2 separate regions of the Homo sapiens genome follow, and region 2 is linked to region 1. The links are contacts of gene promoters, found by promoter capture Hi-C in blood cells and fetal thymus (Javierre and others, 2016). All regions are on one chromosome and are shown on one strand. Each heading gives the region's core, a stretch centred on a gene start or on the middle of the fragment in contact. The rest is flanking DNA. Distances are from core to core; before and after follow the strand shown.

Evidence for each region. Contacts are between HindIII fragments. The CHiCAGO score rates a contact against its expected background, and 5 or more counts as called.
Region 2: a contact is called between a fragment that was not itself captured here and the fragment with the promoter of U2SURP in region 1, in 1 of 17 cell types (total CD4 T cells). The highest score is 6.2, in total CD4 T cells.

The regions. Positions count from the first base shown.
Region 1 is chr3:143,000,250-143,002,949 of GRCh38, forward strand. U2SURP (U2 snRNP associated SURP domain containing) reads left to right here and starts at 1,321. Exons shown (of 28, transcript NM_001080415.2): 1 at 1,321-1,424. The coding sequence starts at 1,380. It overlaps PAQR9-AS1 (PAQR9 antisense RNA 1), which reads left to right. Exons shown (of 5, transcript NR_125393.1): 5 at 778-841. LOC100289361 (a long non-coding RNA gene) reads right to left here and starts at 1,218. Exons shown (of 1, transcript NR_034032.1): 1 at 596-1,218. RefSeq lists enhancers at 759-1,758, 1,033-1,682. The HindIII fragment of the contact is 1,896 bases long and covers 544-2,439 here.
Region 2 is chr3:139,348,839-139,351,560 of GRCh38, forward strand. It overlaps MRPS22 (mitochondrial ribosomal protein S22), which reads left to right. Exons shown (of 8, transcript NM_020191.4): 4 at 1,341-1,484; 5 at 2,139-2,222. Among named protein-coding and RNA genes, the nearest start is that of MRPS22, 6.2 kb to the left of the region's middle. The HindIII fragment of the contact is 2,342 bases long and covers 80-2,421 here.

The DNA.
Region 1 (2,700 bases), core at 71-2,570:
CTATTGATCCTTCCTTGCAGCATCAATTTAATTATGCATAGTGTCAGTTTGCGGTTTCCTTGTCTCCTCCATTTCTCATTAAGTTTTAAATCATATGAAGACAGTGCATGTTTGTCTGTCTCTGTAAGCCCTACAACACTTTGGGCAGGCTTTTACACACAAAACGGGGCTCAAAAATATTTTGAATAAATGATTTAGGGAGAGGTCCACAAACGCCCTCCACTCCCACCCTAGTCCTCAGAGCAATACTTTAAAATAAAAATCTGACCATTTCAACCTTGTTAAAGGCCGATCTTCATTCTGAGAACAGAATTCTAACTCCTAAGCACGATGGTGACCTCAGGGCGCTGTGTGAACCTGCACCCGCACCCCTGTCCAACCACGTCCCTCCCCACACCTGGTCTAATAAAACGACTGCTTTAGGTGACCTGCACGATCGGCTGTACTGATTCATGCCACAGGCTTTTACCTCAATTACTCCCTCTGTCTGGAATGTCCTTTCTTTCCTTGCCTGGCCTGATTCGGGCATGGCCTTCTCAAGCAAGCTTTCCGTCTTTGAATCTAGGCCCTGATTAAGAACTTTTTAAAAAAGTACTAAGTTCAGAAAAGTTTAATATGGTGTTCCCCCATTTATGTGATTAAAAATGAAAACAATACTAAAGTGTAAAATGTAATCTTTAAAATGTCACACAACTTTACATGCATGCTAGATTTAGAATACCATCTGTATTTACGATTTTCTCTTATTGACTGTCTCCACGCGCACCCACTCTGCAGACGCCCTAAAGAGTGTCTATCGGATCACCCTCAAGTTGGGTCAAACGGCTCCTCTTCTCGGCTTTTCGGGAGCAACCCTATCTCAACATTCACCATCTTAAGATGAGCAGACTGCAAGTTTGCCTCTCCCACCAGTATGGGAGCTGCCGAAGCGGCAAGAACAGCGTTTCCGTCCATCGAGCGCCAGGTCACCAGTCAGCTCCAGTCCTATTTTGAGTTGAAGTAAAAGCTCCTCCCTAGATGGCCAGTGCACGTCTTTAAAAAGCGACTCCTTTCCCACAAAGGAAATACGACTGGTTCGCATCTATCAAGGGTTGGCGTTGGGATAAGAGGGTGAAGTATCAGCTGGCCCTGATTCTCTGAATTCCCGGACCCAATAACGCGACCAAGCACCGTGACTCCCAGGAAAACTAGCGGAGTGAGCGCGGCTGAGGAAATTACTGACACCGGAAGTCACGTGAGCGGCTGCCCCTAAGGTCGCTATCTCGACAGTCGACTATTCAGCCTTGCAGGCGCCTCTGGCGGGCTTCACTGAGATCCGCTCTTTCGGTGCTCGACTCGCCCGTGCTGCTGCCGCCGCCGAAGGAGGGGCAAAGCTCAAGATGGCGGACAAAACGCCAGGCGGATCTCAGAAGGCCAGTTCAAAGGTAATTTCTGACAAAATTTCGTAAGTCAGCGGATCTACCACTGTCGTTTGGGGCCCACAGACGCTTCTGGCCTGTGAGAGGCGATTGGGATTGGGGTCTGCATTCTAGTCGCGACGGTAGGCCCGGGCGCCGCCGCACCGTTGTGCGCAGGTTGAGAGGCCTGGTATCTCCCCATAGTCCCAGCCGGGATTCAGCTCGAGACTGGCGTGCCCAGTGGGTGGAGGCGTGAGTGCTTCGGCCCGCGCTTGGCATTGGAGTGAAATCAGGAATTCAGATTGAGGTCTGAAGCAGTGAAAACGCTCTCCTGTATCTCAGCTTCCTGCGCCCTGAGGCCGCCAGACAGCGCCTGGGAGAGAGGCGGGAATCGCTTCCCGGTGCTTAAATGTCTGCTGCTTTTTTCTCGGTTTTGGATCTCACTCACTTCCGGCCTCCCTCAGTTTCCCTCCAAGGAATGAATAACCTCTAGGGTCGCCAGCTGTGAGGGGAGGACCACTAGGGCAAAGACACGGAGTGGGAAATGCAGAGGCGGGAGCAGCTCTCCTTTGCAGTGCTGCATAGCCAAGGTTAATGTACAGTCTACACGTGGTCTTTACCTTAACGGGAAGTAAAAAGCACTTTTGAGGGTAGAGGACTCGTGGTCTCTTTCTTTATGTTGAAGAAACAGTGAAAAGAGAAGCTCCGTAGACTTGTAAGCTACATACGATTAGTAAATTGCATTTGTGTTTACAGGGAACCCTGGGCACGTATTGTGAAACCAGTGAGCTGTGGTAGTAGTTAAGCATTAGTACGGTTGGGTTCTTAGTTGCCATCTTGGGCGGGACATTTAATCGTTTTTTGGTTTGGGTTTCTGGTCTCGAATATATTAAAAGTAATTGGTACTGCCACGAGGTAGTTAAACTTTCCGATGCTGATGCAAGAAGCTGTGTAACACTTTCAGGTGCTAGGGACTGTTAAATCTTAAAGAGTGTGTGACTGTAAATCGGCTATTAGAAAGTTAAATTTACGGTAGGAGAGAAGCTTGCGTTTACAGTTCTGAGAAACATCATAACTCGTTTTCTACTTGCTTTCTCTAATCCGACTGTTTATGCCATTTGGTGAACGATGTACACCAAAATAATTAATTCATAATTAGTAATGGTCTTAACAGACATCGTTTAGTTACATAGAAACTTTGGTGAGGGGCCAGTTTCGGCTTCTTTACAAGGTATTGTGTCAGTTTTTTTTCCCCCTCCTCAGTACATTTTCTCGTCTCCCTCTCTTTGGGGGCGAGCTCTAC
Region 2 (2,722 bases), core at 1-2,500, 3.7 Mb before region 1:
TGTTGTGATTGTTATTCTCTGGCTCCTCTTTACTTGATTGCAAATTTAAAAGAACACTCTGGCATTTTAGAAATATGTAAGCTTTGTATTTGAGCCTTTGCAAGTAAAGAATAAAAAGAGAATAGTTTACAATTCAGCCCACAGAATACGTTAGAACACTATAGAATGCTGAGTTTAGGAGAAGGTTCACTCCATATTAATCTTTTATTATACATGATTATGGTTAGAAAACGATTTGAGCTATGTTCAACACCAGCCATCTGTATATTTGACATAATGAACATGAGTCACAGAGTTTCAATTTTAATTACAGTTTTTGTTTTGTGATGCTTTAATATATGTTTGCAGTGCTGTGCATGTTGGTTGGGAAGCATTTTGTAACTTGAAAAGGAGAAAGGAACTTGGAATTCAGGTTTCTCAAATTACCAAAATCCTTCTGAGGAAAAATTGTATTATGTTGGCATGTGCTTTTTTTTTTTCGATTGGCAGTGTTGATGGAAGTTTCATCTATGTTATCTTCAGAACACATTTAGAGACTCCTACACCTCTGAAAACTTGAGAGTCAGTACTGTTTGGTTAATTTATACATTAATCAGGTGTGTATCAATTATCAGCAATGTGCAAAGCTCCATGTATGCCACTCCCGGTATTGCAAAAAATTATAATCCACATTTCCTGCCCTTTTCCAGTTATATAACAATATCTGAGGGATGCCAAAAATCTTGTGTGGGGTAAATTTCCAGTTGAATGGTATAAAAAGTAGGTAGAATTTAGAGGAGGAAGTGATCCCATGGCCTGGGAGTTGGCAGTTGGAAGATCGAAGTGACCAGAGACAGTTGGACCAGACAGCCTCTCAGACATGTTTATGTCTAATGCCAATATAAGAAATCATAAAAGTGTAGAAGTAAGACTCCTCATTCTTGGGTTTGTTCTTTTTATCCCAAGGACTTTAAACATAGATCATAAAGTAGTAAAATCTGTTTAGATGAGACTTTGGGATAGAGAAATGAAAGTTTGGAAAGGTCATAGCACTTCTTTCCTCTAAAATGGATATAGATGAATCTCAGCTTTTTTCGTATCGAACTCACGTTAGCACCATAGTTGGTACTTACTGAATACTTTCATTTTAGATTTCTGATTGTCAGATGCACAGCAGTGATTAGTGAAGGAAATATCAAACCTTGCCAAGTCTTTGAGGTTTAAAATTATCATTGATCTCATATGCATGATTGCATTTTATATTGTTGATTGCAAATTATTCTTATAATGGCCTTAGTGGGACACAGGAACTAAAAATACGTCCTCACAAACGCATCCTTGATTATGTTTTTCTATTTTAGGAGCGTTTTATTGTCGTCAGAGAACCAAGTGGCACACTACGCAAAGCCTCTTGGGAAGAACGGGACCGAATGATACAAGTTTATTTCCCAAAAGAAGGTCGTAAAATTTTGACACCAATAATTTTCAAGGAAGAAAATCTTAGGGTAAGGTGACTTAGGTTTTATGTTTTAGAGCCAGTGGTGATGATTTATTTGTAGAACCAGTTGGCTTTGTGCCTTGATCCAGATAAACATTTCTAATGATAACTTGACTTTTTTTTTTTTTTGAAATGGAGTTTCGCTCCTTTTGCCCAGGCTGAAGTGCAGTGGCGGGATCTCAGCTCACTGCAACCTCCACCTTCTGGTTTCAAGTGATTCTTCTGCCTCAGCCTCATGAGTAGCTGGGATTACAGGCGCCCGCCACCACGCTTGGCTAATTTTTGTATTTTTAGTAGAGATGGGGTTTCACCATGTTGGCCAGGCTGGTCTTGAACTCCTGACCTCGGGATTCGCACCCCCCCCCCGCAATCCGACTCCCAAAGTGCTGGGATTACAGGCGTGAGCCACCATGCCTGGCCGACTTCTTTCTTAATAGAATCCTCCTTACCACCCAAGATGGGTTGTACTAGGGTTCTCTCATAATTGGCTTAGCTGGAATTTGAATCTAGGTGTGACAATTACAAAGCCTGTGTTCTTTCTTTATGCTTCTTGAGGAGCACAGAGTGGCCAGTATGTGGGTGGGCAGGCCTGTCATGACATCAGGACAGGTGCTGAACTTCAGTGTTCTCATGTGATGCTAACTCTGCTGTGTGGTTTTAGACTATGTATAGCCAGGACAGGCATGTTGATGTCCTCAATCTCTGCTTTGCCCAGTTTGAGCCAGATTCCACAGAGTATATCAAGGTGAGTAGATTTTAGTTTCTAAAATATAGGCTTAAGTATGGTTATGAGTAAGATTTTTAATCTAGCTCAATGAATTTCGTTGTAAGTTTTGATACAGGGGAAAGGGAAGAGAAATACCTGAAAATCTATTGAGTACAGTTGTGTGCCAGATATATATTTTATAATCACAACAACCCTTGATTAAAGATGAGGGAATTTAAGCTTGTAGAATTAAGTAGCTTGCTGAAAGTTGCATAGCTACTAAGTGGTAGGGTTAGGACCCAAGTTTGATGACAAAGCCTATTCTCTTTTCAGTTTACCGTATAGGAATCAAATTATTTACTAAAATTTTGCTGAAGTACAGTGTGTTTGTCTTACAGCTCAGTAAGTATTCATTAGTACCTTCTATGTGTAAGGTATTATCTTGGGTAGTATAGGTGATGCCACGAACTAGGATAGAGTATGCTGTGCCAAAGCCAGCAGTCCGGATATGGCTGTGGGGAAAGGTGCTAGTAAGTATA